2 separate regions of the Homo sapiens genome follow, and region 2 is linked to region 1. Evidence: promoter capture Hi-C in 16 types of primary human blood cells and fetal thymus (Javierre and others, 2016). All regions are on one chromosome and are shown on one strand. Each heading gives the region's core, a stretch centred on a gene start or on the middle of the fragment in contact. The rest is flanking DNA. Distances are from core to core; before and after follow the strand shown.

Evidence for each region. Contacts are between HindIII fragments. The CHiCAGO score rates a contact against its expected background, and 5 or more counts as called.
Region 2: a contact is called between a fragment that was not itself captured here and the fragment with the promoter of DUSP16 in region 1, in 1 of 17 cell types (endothelial precursors). The highest score is 5.0, in endothelial precursors.

Annotation. Positions count from the first base shown.
Region 1 is chr12:12,561,613-12,569,052 of GRCh38, forward strand. It overlaps DUSP16 (dual specificity phosphatase 16), which reads right to left and starts at 1,251. Exons shown (of 7, transcript NM_030640.3): 1 at 505-1,251. It also overlaps the pseudogene RPL19P17. RefSeq lists silencers at 151-350, 371-490, 521-600, 1,051-1,560. The HindIII fragment of the contact is 13,074 bases long and covers 1-7,440 here.
Region 2 is chr12:12,073,961-12,081,400 of GRCh38, forward strand. BCL2L14 (BCL2 like 14) reads left to right here. Exons shown (of 6, transcript NM_138723.2): 2 at 5,339-5,778. The coding sequence starts at 5,346. Among named protein-coding and RNA genes, the nearest start is that of BCL2L14, 6.7 kb to the left of the region's middle. The HindIII fragment of the contact is 231 bases long and covers 4,500-4,730 here.

The DNA.
Region 1 (7,440 bases), core at 1-2,500:
CCGTCACCACCCAGGTGGCCTCGCTGCTTACACCAAAGGCGAACTGGGGATAATGGGAACAGTCAGGCCAGGGCCCCACTTGGCAGGCGTGTTGTGTAACAGTCGCGCCTGGAAGTGAGCAGCTTCGCCCGCAAAGGTGCCGCGTCCCGCGGCGGCCGCTCCTCTCGGCGGGGCCCGGTCCAAGCGCCGCGCAGCGGCCGGGAGCGCACCCACTGCGACCCCGCGCCCGGCCGCACGCCCCCTTCCCGCTCCGGCCAGCCTCCGGCCAGGCCTACACCCCCGCTTCAAACGCTCCTGCGGCCCCCGGCCGCGGTCGCCCCCACGCCGCCTCCCGAAAGGGTGGCCGGTACGCCCGGGAAGGCAGAGACGGCGGGGCTGGAGCGCGGCGCCCGGCACCGGGAGTCGGGGCGCGCTGCGGAGCGTCCATGCGGCCGGGCGGGAGGGCGCCCCGGGCCCCGCACCCTCCCGCCCGCACACCCCGCGCGGCCCGCCAAGGCCACTTACTTTTGGGGCCGCCGACCTCCCAATTCCCTCAGAGGGAAACGAAAGTTGTCACGGCGTCTCCCCTCGGGCCCCCCTCGCCTCCCGGACTTGCGAGGCGCCGCCGCGGAGCCGAGAGGGCGGCTGCGCTCCCGCTCGCGTCCCGTCCCGTCGCTCTCCTCCTCCTCTTCTTTTCAGTATATTATCTTCTCCTTCTCTGAGGGGTGGGTTGGGGCGGGAGGCTTAGGAAGAGAGGAGACGCTCGCAACTTTTCTTCACTCTTTCTCTTCCACCCTCCCCCCCATCAGCCTTCAAAAAAAATGTCGAAAGAGATGAAGAACTTAGGGAGGTAAAGGTGGGGGGCCGCGTTGTGAAAGTGGGGGTTGGGGGGGAGAGAGAGGTGGTAATAATCGTTTAAAAACTGATTAAAGCCCCCCAAACACTGATACATAGAAAGAGGGGGAAAGGCGGGGGGGTGGGGTGGGGGGTTGGGGGAAAGAGAAAGAGTCGCTGGTCAGGAAACTTCAAGCGCGGATGAGGTCATTGGTTTAAAAATAAAGAGATGGCGTCACTTGAAACCAATCCCAGTGAATGAACTCAGCGGAGCCCCGGGGAAAGGAGGAGACAGGCGAGGGCAGGGCGGTGGGCGCCGGGCGGGGCCGCGCGCTCGCCCATCCCGCGGCCGCCCGAGCCCGGAGCGCGGCTCCGCGCCTCGTTCCGGCCGCTCGGGGAGGGGTCAGGTCATGTTCCCTTCCAGAGTCCGGCGACTCTGAGGCAGGTTCCGCGGGCGCCGCTGGGAGGAGCCGGAGCTGCCGGAGGAGGCGGCCCCGCGGCCTCCTCCCCCACCTCTCCCTCCTCCTCCTCCTCCTCCCGCGCCCGCGCGCCCGCCCCCTACCCCCGGGCTCGCGGCCCCGACCCCCGGGCCGGGGTGTCCGCCTCCAGTGCTGCGCCCCAACAGGTATCGGAGGGTTTTCTCCCTCACCCAGACGCAGAACCTTTCCCTCCTCCTTGAGCTGTTTCCAGCTGCCTCACCAACGTCAAAAAACGCAAACACTGATTTGAGAGAATTACACTCGCTCTGTAAAAAGTCTGGCGAATGCAAAAGGCAAGGCTCTGCCATCTCTCAGGAGAGAAGTTACAGGTACTTCAAGAAAAATCACACTACTGTTGTCAGGCATTCAGCTATCTATATGTTTATGGTTGAAAGCCCCCACATAAATGTTCCTACATTACTTTACTTTGCTTATATTTACAAATACAAGGATAAGCAGCCTACATTTTCTTTAAAAATGTTTTCTACAGGAGGCAGCGCAGAAACATCTTTAAATAAGACCAGGGGTTAACCGCCTCTTGAGAGGTACAAAACCCTTGTTGATTTAACTCCACATACCTCGTGCATTTTATTATTTGAATTCATTAAAATGTCTGTTTTGAGATGACATTATGCACTTTGGAAAACGAGAGACCTGAGGTGGTGACAAACCAGGACTTGGAATCACTGAATAGGACAATCGGAGCTTTATTCCAATGTTCTTTGAGCATTTGAGCATGAAGCTGCTTCTACTGAGAAGTACTCACGTGGATATCACATAACAAAGATGTGATTAATGACGGAAAAGCACCCTGCGAGTGGACTGCTCCATGAGCCAGAATTTATGTGTAGGAATAATCTAACTCTTCAAATATTCCATTTACAATGTGCCGGATTGGGACACTAGACCCTAAAGGCACTGTTTGCTGTGGGATATCCATGTGCACCCTGCCTAAAGCACGTTTTTCCACTAGCAAAAGAACTGATAAGCAGGTTTGGGTGGGTTCGAAAGATAATACACCCCTGTTACTACTTTTCTGCCTTTAAGTCCTGCAACTAAAGGCATTCCTTATGATTGGTAATCATTGAAGGTTAGTGTTGCGGGGTATGGCCCTGGGAACTTCTGGCCCATCTTTTATAGGAGGGAAAAAAAAAGCCCATTTGAAGATGGGAGGCACCCTAGCACCTCTGGCAGTAGTAGGTAAAGCCTGAAGGCCACAGATGGAGAAGCAACTTTGAGCCTGTGCCTCTGGCCTCTTGAAGACTTTGCTAGGGGAAGCAAATCTCTCCCACTGCTCCCTGTCCTCTGGTGGCCAGGAGGTGTTACTGCAGCTTCCTTGGGATTATTTGTGCTCTACCAGGAAACCCCTAAAAATCTAACTGTAGACCTTTGTTGGAGGTGTTGGGATTTTTAGGAAGGAAGAAGAAGATAGTCCTTTTACTAGTGGTACAGAGCATGGATCTTGCCTGGAGGAAAGATTCATGAGAATTAATGGTATCCCCTTTGCATGCCAAAGTTCCAGTAACCTTGCTTTAACTGACATGGCTTGAAACGTTTCTCCCCTTTCCTCAGTTACACAATTAAGTTTGTGTAATGTATGATGTGGTGCCATCATAGCTATCATAGAAGTCTCTCAGGGTATTTCATCTATTTCTGGAAACAAGACGTATATTAAAGCTCATTAAAAACGAAATCAATGATTGAGTGATGTACAATATTGGTTAAAAGAGTCAGGGGGCCGGGCGTGGTGGCTTAAGCCTATAATCCCAGCACTTTGGGAGGCCCGAGGCGGGTGGATCATGAGGTCAAGAGATCGAGACCATCCTGGCCAACATGGTGAAACCCCGTCTCTACTAAAAATACAAAAATTAGCCAGGCGTGGTGGTGGGCGCCTGTAGTCCCAGCTACTCAGGAGGCTGAGGCAGAAGAATCACTTGAACCCGGGAGGTGGAGGTTGCAATGAGCCGAGATCGCACCACTGCACTCCAGACTCCAGCCTGGCAACAGAGTGAGACTCCATCTCAAAAAAAAAAAAAAAAACAAACAAACAAAAAAAAACATCAGGGGAGAAAAGGAGCAATGTAGGCTGGGATTATCAGGGAAGGCACCTTATAAAGAGTTTTGACCTTATCCTTGAAGGACAGTTCAGATTTAGTTTGCAGTGAAGAAGCCAGTGGAGGGAAGATTCCAGAGGGCAAATGGCAATGAGCCAAGACATGGAGGTGGAATGAATAATGAGTAAGGTGTATTCAAGTGACAGAAGAGTAAACCCAGTAGCAGTAGAAATCGGTATTTAGCAATTAGGTATGAGGTTAAATTTAAGAGATACAGAGGCACATTGTGGAGGTACTTGAATGTTAGAATAAATAGATTGTTACCTGCCCAGCAGGTGAAGGGGAAACCACTAAACAAGTTTACTTCACCGAAGAGTACATTTCTTTCTTTTACTAAGAAAGGTTTTCTACATACTAACAATAAATATGTGGAAACAGCCCTCTCCCTCTCCCGCTCCCGCTCCCGCTCCCTCTCTTTCCACGATCTCCCTCTGATGCCGAGCCGAAGCTGGACTATACTGCTGCCATCTCGGCTCACTGCAACCTCCCTGCCTGATTCTCCTGCCTTAGCCTGCTGAGTGCCTGCGATTGCAGGCACGCACCGCCACGCCTGACTGGTTTTCGTATTTTTTTGGTGGAGACGGGGTTTCGCTGTGTTGGCCGGGCTGGTCTCCAGCTCCTAACCGTGAGTGATCCGCCAGCCTCGGCCTCCTGAGGTGCCGGGATTGCAGACTGAGTCTGGTTCACTCAGTGCTCAATGGTGCCCAGGCTGGAGTGCAGTGGCGTGATCTCGGCTCGCTACAACCTCCACCTCCCAGCCGCCTGCCTTGGCCTCCCAAAGTGCTGAGAGTGCAGCCTCTGCCCGGCCGCCACCCCATCTGGGAAGTGAGGAGCGTCTCTGCCTGGCTGCCCATCGTCTGGGACGTGAGGAGCCCCTCTGCCTGGCTGCCCCATCTGGAAGTGAGGAGCGTCTCTGCCCGGCCGCCATCCCATCTAGGAAGTGAGGAGCGCCTCTTCCCGGCTGCCATCCCATCTAGGAAGTGAGGAGCGTCTCTGCCCGGCCGCCCATCGTCTGAGATGTGGGGAGCGCCTCTGCCCCGCCGCCCCGTCTGGGAGGTGAGGAGCGTCTCTGCCCAGCCACCCCGTCTGAGAAGGGAGGAGACCCTCCGCCCGGCAGCCGCCCCGTCTGCGAAGTGAGGAGCCCCTCCGCCCGGCAGCCACCCCGTCTGGGAAGTGAGGAGCGTCTCCGCCCGGCAGCCACCCAGTCCGGGAAGGAGGTGGGGCTCAGCCCCCGCCAGGCCAGCCGCCCTGTCTGGGAGGGAGGTGGGGGGGTCAGCCCCACGCCTGGCCAGCCGCCCCGTCCGGGAGGTGAGGGGCGCCTCTGCCCGGCCGCCCCTACTGGGAAGTGAGGAGCCCCTCTGCCTGGCCACCACCCCGTCTGGGAGGTGTACCCAACAGCTCATTGAGAACGGGCCATGATGACAATGGCGGTTTTGTGGAATGGAAAGGGGGGGAAGGTGGGGAAAAGATTGAGAAATCAGATGGTTGCCGTGTCTGTGTAGAAAGAAGTAGACATGGGAGACTTTTCATTTTGTTCTGTACTAAGAAAAATTCTTCTGCCTTGGGATCCTGTTGATCTGTGACCTTACCCCCAACCCTGTGCTCTCTGAAACATGTGCTGTGTCCACTCAGGGTTAAATGGATTAAGGGCGGTGCAAGATGTGCTTTGTTAAACAGATGCTTGAAGGCAGCATGCTCGTTAAGAGTCATCACCACTCCTTAATCTCAAGTACCCAGTGACACAGACACTGCGGAAGGCCGCGGGGTCCTCTGCCTAGGAAAACCAGAGACCTTTGTTCACTTGTTTATCTGCTGACCTTCCCTCCACTATTGTCCTGTGACCCTGCCAAATCCCCCTCTGCGAGAAACACCCAAGAATGATCAATAAAAAAAAAATAATAAAAAATAAAAAATAATAATAAAAAATGTGGAAACAGAAATTAAAAACAGAACCATTTTACAATTGCTCCAAAGAACGTGAAATATTTACATATAAATCTAACAAAACATGTACAACATCTGTGTGATGAAAATTATAAAATGCTGATGAAAGAAATTAAAGAAGACAAATAATTGGAATGGCATACTATATTCATGGATTGGAAGAATCAATAAACATGTCATTTCTTCCCAAATTGATCTATAGAGTTAACGTAATTTTCATCAATATCCCAGCAAGGTTTTTTGTAGTCATAAGCAATCTTAAACTAAAACAGTGTCCAACACATCTAGAGGACTGAGTGAGTGCTAGACTCCCCCAAGACAGAGGAAGAGCACATACACTTAGGGCACCAGCAAGGCAGGGAGTCCAAGGTTTACAATCAGATAATCTAGAAAGAAGCTATTTTTGCTTCAGTACATGTAAGTGTGTGGTTTAGTACTGTTTTTTAGTTAGAGTTAAATATGGGGAAGGAGCACCAAAATTGCTGGTTAGAATTAAATATGGGGGAGAAGCACCATAATCCTTAGTGTTTAGACCCTCTTAAGGTCTTACTTAATCCATCCCTGGCTGAAGTTTATTCATTGACAAACAGTGATTGAGTGCCTACTACCCTTATGTGCCAGGCACTGCACCTAGCTCTGGGAATATGGTTATAAATAAGATTACCTATCTCTCATGAAACTAACATTCAAGTGGAGAGAGAAGACAATAAGCCAATAAACAAAAACCACGGCCTGGACTGTGACAAGATGGACTACACAGGGAAAAAAAACTGGGTGAGGTGATAGTGAGTGACTTGGGGTAGGGGTGAAGGTGGTGGGGGAAGTTCAAATGAAGAGGGGACATTTGAACTGAGACCTTAAGGATGGCAACAGGGGAAGTGGTCAGGGTAGAGAAAACAGGTCACTCTAAGACCGTTCAGCAGAAACAGAGTGACTTGTAGAGAGTTGGTGTGTTCCCAGAGCCAAAGGAAGCCAGTGGGGCACAAAAGTATAAAACAAGGGTGGGCAGGAGCCAGATTATGTAGTACCTTATAGTGTATGGAGTTCAGATTCTATTCTGAAAGATTTAAGCAGTTAGTACATGATCTGATTTATGAAGAGGACATTTGCAATTAAGTAAGCATAAAAGGTTGCGTTTTAGAGAGTTGGGTTTTTTTTCAAGCAGATAAAAGCCTGTTTTGTTTGAATGGTCTATGTAATTACTGAGGCCACTATGTATAGACAAGAAAGGAGGAGCTTTATCTCTCGGTCTCTTCCTCCTTGGACAACATCTTGATGATCTCCTCCTTCTTGGCCTGGAGGCACTCGTCATGAAGTTTGCACACTTCCTTAGTCTTAGGCCAGTGGGCCTCAGCCTGGTCCACCAGGAGCTTCTTGCGGGACTTGTCTACCTTCAGCTTGCGGACAATTCCATGAGAATACGCTTGTTTTTGAACACAATCCCTTTCACCTTCTGGTACAGAGTGTAATACATGTGGCAATCAGTCTTCTTAGATTCACAGTATCTTCTAAGAAGCTGGCACAGAATCCTCATTCTCCTTATCCAGGTTACCTTCCCTGGCCTTTGGGCATTGGCTGTACCTTCTTGCTTACCTATGCCCAGGTGCCTGCCCTTCCGATGGTCCAAGGTTTTCTGGCATCAAGGAGCCTGGGAATGGACAGGCACAGGCTTGCGGATGATCAGCCCATGTTTGATCAGCTTCTGGATTTGCTGATGGGAGTTAACATTGGTCTCTGGGAGCCAACCAGACCTTCTTTTTGCCACAGCAAAAGACATTAGAGGAAAACTTCCTCTGAAGCCTGAGCATATGCATGGCTTCAGCTGCAGCAGCAAAAACAGTTTTAATATTCTCTATTTTTTAGGTAATATAACAGCTCCCTTTTCCAATAGGAAGAGAGAGTTTTTGACAATTTTGTTAATCTCCAAGGATCCTTTGAATGTTCCTAAGTCAAATGTTCTTAGCCTAGGATTTGTGGATTCCTAGAGAGTATATAGATGGGCTCCAGAGGGTCTAAGAGCCCCCTAAAATTTTGTGTATATATGCTTATACATGTTTTTCTGTGAGTGGGTCCCTAGCTTTCAACAGATT
Region 2 (7,440 bases), core at 3,365-5,864, 480 kb before region 1:
GTGTCTCAGCAACAGCTTCCCCTCCTAGGGTGGCCAGAGTTAGCAAGCAAGAATGCAAGACAGCCAGTTATGTTTGAATTTCAGATAAATAACAAATATAAGTGTCTTTTAGCATATAATATTTTATTTGGGACATATACTAATATTTATTATATATTAGTCTCATGATATTTGGGACATATACTAAAAAATTATTTGCCCTTTATCTGAACTTCAAATGTGACCAAATGTGTCCTGTATTCTGAATGTGTCTGGCAGTCCTATAATCATTCATTCAGTCAGTCATCAGATATTTGAGCACCTACCATGTATCAAGCACTATTCTAGAGAGCCCGGATAGCTCAGTCAGTAGAGCATCAAGCGCTACTCTAGGTGCTGGGGAAGCCAGCCAAAGTCCCGCCTTCATATCTTACAGTATGTCTACTTTGTTTTTATATACATGTACACTATATATACTTGAAGATATGTACCTTTTTCTTTTTTTCTTTTTATTATTTTTTTTTGAGACAGAGTCTGACTCTATTACTCAGTGCAGTGGCACCATCTCAGCTCACTGCAACTTCTACCTCCTGGGTTCAAGTGATTCTCCAGCCTCAGCCTCCCAAGTAGCTAGGATTACAGGCATGTGCCACCATACCTGGCTAATTTTTGTATTTTTAGTAGAGACAAAGTTTCACCATGTTGGCCAGGCTTGTCTTGAACTCCTGACCTCAAGTGATCTGCCCACCTCGGCCTCCCAAAGTGCTAGGATTACAGGCGTGAGCCACCGCGCCCAGCCCAGATATGTACTTTTTAATGGCAATGTTACCACATTTAATGAGATTATCTTTTTAAAAAATGTTTTAATTTTTAAATTTTAAAAAATAGGGATGGGATCTTACTTTGTTGCCTAGACTGGTCTCCAAATCCAGGTCTCAAGTGATCCTCCCACCTTGGCCTCCTAAGGTGGTGGGATTACAGGTGTGAGCCACGGTGCCAGCCAAGATGATCAATACTTCCTTAATATCATCTAAAACATACACTGTACTGTGTTTAGTTCTCTATCATCTCAAAGATATCTACATCTTTATACAGTATGTTTGAATTACGATTTAATAAAGATCCACTCATGACATCTAATTGATGTCTCTTTTTTTTTAATATGTTTCTTTTTTTTCTTTTTATTTATTTATTTATTTTTGAGACAGAGTCTCCGTGTGTCACCCAGGCTGGAGTGCAATGGCGCGATCCCCGCTCACTGCAACCTTTGCCTCCCAGGTTCAAGTGATTCTCCTGTTGCAGTCTCCCAACTCACTGGAATTACAGGCACCTGCCATCATGCCCAGCTAATTTTTGTATTTTTTTTAGAGACAGGGTTTCACCACGTTGGCCAGGCTGCTCTTGAACTCCTGCCTCCCAAAGTGCTGGGATTACAGGCGTGAACGATTGTGCCCTGCCTGATATGTTTCTATTCTTTCTTTCTTTCTTTCTTTCTTTTTTTTTTGAGACGGAGTTTCGCTGTTGTTGCCCAGGCTGGATGCAATGGCGTGATCTCGGCTCACTGCAACCTCCGCCTCCTGGGTTCAAGTGATTCTCCTGCCTCAGCCTCCCGAGTAGCTGGGATTGCAGGCATGTGCCACCATGCCTGGCTAATTTTGTATTTTTAGTAGAGACGGGGTTTCTCCATGTTGGTCAGGCTGGTCTCAAACTCCCGACCTCTGGTGAACTACCCGCCTTGGCCTCCCAAAGTGCTAGGATTACAGGCGTGAGCCATCGTCCCCTGCCGGATATGTTTCTTATGTCTCTTTTAAGCTGTAGCAGTTCTCTGTCTTCACCTTTTTTTGGCGCCATTTATTTGTTGAAGAAACCGGCCATTTGTCTTGCAGAACTTACCAGATACTGAATTTGGATAGCTGCCTTCTTGTGGTCATTAGTTTATTTCTCTGTCCCCTGTATTTCCTGTAAACTGATCATTAGATCCAGAGGCTTGATCAGATTCGGATCCAATGTTTTTGGATCAGGAGACACATAATGGTTGTCTCACCTTTAGTGAGACCAAGATTGGTCATTGGGAACAGGGAAGTGGAGCTGGGGTGAGTATAGGGTCACCAGATGTCCAGTACAAGCAGAATGGACAGGGCTGTGCTGCAGGATGGATGAGGGGAGGGTGGGATGCCCGGAAAATGCATGGGGGAGGGTGGGATGCCCGGAAAATGCATGGGGGAGGGTGGGATGCCCGGAAAATGCATGGGGGAGGGTGGGATGCCCGGAAAATGCATGGGGGAGGGTGGGATTGGATGGAATTGGGGAGCGGGAAGGGGTAAGTGGAAAAGCAGTAAGGAACATGACCTTCGAGGAGACACTGACGTGACTCCTTACAGAGCAAACGATTTGCATGTAAGTGAAATGCATGTAAGTGAATGTGAAATTGGAGCAGTGGCGGGAAGAAAGATTGTCCAAGCCCTGGAATAAGACAGGAATGTGAAGAAACAGCAGAGGAGGAGGAAGGATTGCAGTCATGACCCCCACTTCATGCCATACTCCTCAAGCATTTGCTTACATCCAGTTATGTGAGGGAGGTTTGCGGGGCTTGGAAGTTGTATAATTGTATCTGTGTAGTTGGTCTGGTGGGTTTTGCAACTTGCCCTTTGCTGCACTGGGAGGGCCATTTTTGTCCCCTCCAGCATCACCTGATGTTGCAGCATAGCCCGCTGCATCCCTCCCAGGCTCACTTCCATCAGAACGCACCTAGCCAGGGACCCTTGCTTTCCTGGGGCCTGGCCAAGGAGCAGTTCCTCAGATCAACAGCTTCGCTATCAGCCAATGTGAGCCTCTTCTAAGTAAAGGAGAGGAGACAGTGATGGAAAAAGGCAGCATCCAGCAGGCCCTCAGGGGAGATATTTCAGCTCCTACACCTCCTTCCAATAGCAGAACCAGGGGGAAAAGTTAGAGAATATCCTTATTCTATCTAACAACTTGGACACCGAGGAACAAAAAGGTGGCGTGACTTGCCCAAGGATGTTGCAGGTTAGAAGCTGAGCCAGCCGTGGCTATCCATCCTTCAGACACCCAGGCCAACTTGTCTGTACCACCTCACATTGCCTCAAACCCTGTCTGCAGTTACTGTCCCATTTCTTTATCATTTGGTCCTGGTATGACAAGGTACAGTGGAAAGAAAAAGAGGAACATGCCAGCCAGTCCCCTTAATATTACTGCAGCTTCTTTATCATCACAGCAGCTTACATGCCGAAAGACCGTCTTAAATTAGGACCAGAAAGGGAAGGGAACATTATTAAGAGCCATATTAAGACAGAGCCTGAGGCCGGGCATGGTAGCTCATGGCTGTAATCTCAGCACTTTGGGAGGCTGAGGCAGGTGGATCACTTGAGCCCAGGAGTTTCGCACCAGACTGGGCAACATAGCGAGACCTTGTCTCTAAAAGACAAAACAAAAAAATTAGCCAGGTGTGGTGGCATGTGCCTGTGTTCCCAGCTACTTGAGGGGCTGAGGTGAGAGAATCCCTTGAGCCGGGGAGGTTGAGGCTGTGGTGAGCTATGATCTGCACTCCAGCCTGGGCAACAGAGCAAAACTGAGTCTCAAAAAAAAAAAAAAAAAGAGAGCCTGGGGCCTAGGACAACAGCTGAACTAGAAAAAAAACATAGCTACCACTTTTGAACCAGGTTCTGTGCAGGAACTTCTCTTGTGTATCTTACACCCTTACAATATCCCTGCAAGATGACTATTATTATTTACAATTTGCCTGCAGGAAGTTCATGTTTGGAGAGATGGAGTAACCTGCCACAGGTCACAAAACTAGTCACTGGCATGGCCACAATCTGAATTTGGGACTGTTAGACTGAGAAGCCCAAGCTAATTCTTGATACGCTCACTGCCTGGGACATTTCACACGGTAGATCTGAGCTTTCTCGCATCTGAGACTAAAAGGAAAATGTAGTCCTTAACAGACAGCAGAAGGAAACAGATTATTAGCAAAAAGAACTGCTTTCCTAGCAGGAAACCAGAGAAGGAGTTATTTCATGTAAGCTCAAGCAAAGGAAATTGAACAAAATCAGTTCTTTATCTATCCTGTTATTCGTATGGAAATAAAGAAGAAATGCTTGCATCCTGTTGTTTTAGTGCTTGTACTGATCTTTTTCAAACATGCCTGTGATCACATCACTCTCTACTCAAAACTTTGAACAGCTCTCCATTGCCTCCATCAGTGTGTTTCAAATTCGTAAAAAGTAAAATAAAATAACAGGATGCTTTTTTCAGATGAAATCTTACATGGCATACCAAATATAGCAAGAAAAAAGAAAGAGAGAGAGAGAGGAGAGAGAAGCCGGGACAAGCTAAAGCAGAGGGTAGAGGGAGAAGGAACCGAGGAAGGGAAGGGTCAGGTCCCAGGCATTTCTCTTCCCTGAATTGGCCTCCCTCTTTTGCCACCTCCCCAGCAAGACCTTTAACTCCACAGTCCACAGCTCATTTTGAAATGTACTGATCAACGTGAGAAAATGCGAAGCTTCAGCCTGATAGTCAAAGACCACCATAATCTGGACCCAAGTGCTAGTTCACTTATTTTCCCTCCACTATTTTCAAGCCCTGGCTATTTGCAAACTGCATACGTATGCTGTCCCAGTTCTCTCACCACTCTTCAAACACATTCTGAATTCACCTATAATCTCCCCTCTGCCCGCCCTGTTGTAGCCCCAATATCCACCCACCTGTCTAACTCCTTCTAGCTTTCCAAAAGCTTTCACTTGCCTCTTTCTTTGAAGCTCACCTATCCCTGCCTTCTAACCTGGCTATCTGCATCTCTGTTAGACCTCTTACTTAGTTCATTAGTTCATTCTCTCTCTGTTGTTTTTTGTTTTTTGAGACGGAGTCTCACTCTGTCGCCAGGCTGGAGTGCAGTGGCGCAATCTCAGCTCACTACAACCCCCGACTCCTGGGTTCAAGCGATTCTTCTGCCGCAGCCTCCCAAGTAGCCGGGTCTACAGGCGTGCGCCACCATGCCTGGCTAATTTTTGTATCTTTAGTAGAGACGGGCTTTCACTGTATAGGCCAGGCTGGTCTTGAACTCCTGACCTCATGATCTGCCCGCCTTGGCCTCCCAAAGTTTTGGGATTACAGGCGTGAGCCACCGCACCCGGCAGTTCATTTTCTTTATGTGGAGTTATCTATGGCCATGTCTCTCTTCCCACCCTAGTAAGACTGTGGCTTTTCCCTCTCTACCCTCCAGCACAAACACAATAGATGTTCAATAAATGTTTCCTGAGTTTTCACCCCTGTCTCTCCTAACCTGCAAAGGGTAAGTGGCCCTGCATAGAAGGGCACAGTGTGGACTTTGTTGTTACAGGCCCAACATGTGTAGCACCAGTGGGTGTGACCTGGAAGAAATCCCCCTAGATGATGATGACCTAAACACCATAGAATTCAAAATCCTCGCCTACTACACCAGACATCATGTCTTCAAGAGCACCCCTGCTCTCTTCTCACCAAAGCTGCTGAGAACAAGAAGTTTGTCCCAGAGGGGCCTGGGGAATTGTTCAGCAAATGAGTCATGGACAGAGGTGTCATGGCCTTGCAGAAATTCCCAATCCAGTGAGAAGGCCATAAACCTTGGCAAGAAAAAGTCTTCTTGGAAAGCATTCTTTGGAGTAGTGGAGAAGGAAGATTCGCAGAGCACGCCTGCCAAGGTCTCTGCTCAGGGTCAAAGGACGTTGGAATACCAAGATTCGCACAGCCAGCAGTGGTCCAGGTGTCTTTCTAACGTGGAGCAGTGCTTGGAGCATGAAGGTAGGCATCTGGGATTTCTTTCTCTCCCGCTTCCTGGTTTTTCCCTTCTTTGTGTCCAGAGTGGTACATCTCTTCTCATGTTGTAAAGTGGCTTTAGAGAAGGCATGCGTTGTGCCTCAGCTTTCCAACTTATTAGTGTTCAATCATAATTGCCCTGCTTTTCTCAAGACTAAAAGGAGTTGCTGCCTGGGCGCGGTGGCTCACGCCTGTAATCCCAGCACTCTGGGAGGCCAAGGCGGGTGGATCATGAGGTCAGGAGATTGAGACCATCCTGGCTAACACGGTAAAACCCCGTCTCCACTAAAAAATACAAAAAATTAGCCGGGCGTGTTGGCGGGTGCCTGTAGTCCCAGCTACTCGGGAGGCTGAGGCAGGAGAATGGCGTGAACCCAGCAGGCGGAGCTTGCAGTGAGCCAAGATGGCATCACTGCACTCCAGCTTGGGTGACAGAGTGAGACTCCGTCAAAAAAAAAAAAATGACTAAAAGGAAATGATGGAAGTTAAGGGTGCTGGGACTGGTTTTCTTTCTCCACTGTCTATAAATAAGCTTGTTTCCCAAATTCCTAGTCCTCTGTACCAGACACCAATATAAAAGAAGGAGGCTAGGCGCAGTGGCTCATGCCTGTAATTCCAGCACTTTGGAAGGTTGAGGTGGGCAGATCATAAGGTCAGGAGTTCAAGACTAGCCTGGCCAACATAGTGAAAACCCGTCTCTACTAAAGATACAAAAAATTAGCCGGGCATGGTGGCGCATGCTTGTATTCCCAGCTACTCGGGAGGCTGGGGCAAGAGAATCGCTTGAACCTGGGAGGCGGAGGTTGCAGTGAGCCGAGATTGCATCACTGCACTCCAGCCTGAGCTACAGGGTAAGACTTTGTCTCAAAAAAAAAAAAAAAAAAGAACGAGCCCTAACCAGGGGCTTGCTTGGGCTGCCTGGGCCGCTGCTCTTCCTAAGTCAACTCATTCGCTCAGGGCCTCTGTGTTTCCATCTGTACATTGGGTACCCCACTCTCTCCACCTCGTATGGTTGATGGGAAGATCAGAGAGCAAGAGTAAAAGGACTCTTGACAAAGTACAAACCATCCTACAAAAACAACTGAGAAGCATTTAGACAAAATCTTCCCTCAGTTGGACAAAATTAATTGTACTTAATGAAACATTTTCACCAGGCACTGAGGCTCATACCTGTAATCCCAGCACTTTGGGAGGCCAAGGTGGGTGGATCGGTTGAGCTCAGGAGTTCAAGACCAGCCTTAGCAACATGGCAAAACCCTGTCTCTACCAAAAAATACAAAAAAATTAGTCAGACATGGTGGTGCACGCCTGTGGTCCTGGCTACTCGGGAGGCTGAGGTGGGAGGATGGCTTGAGCCTGGGAAGTAGAGGTTGCAGTGAGCCAAGATGATGCCACTGCACTCCAGCCTGGGTGACAGAGTGAGAGCCCATCACGTCGATACTCTCAGCACTGTGGGAAACCAAGGCAGGAGGATCACTTGACACCAAGAGTTTGAGATCAGCCTGGCATCATAGCAAGACCCTGTCTCCATTAAAAAATTAAAATAAAAAAATTAGCGAGGCATGGTGGCACATGCCTGTTGTCCCAGCTACTATGGAGGCTGAGGTGGAAGGATCACTTGAGCTCAGGAGGTCAAGGCTGCAGTGA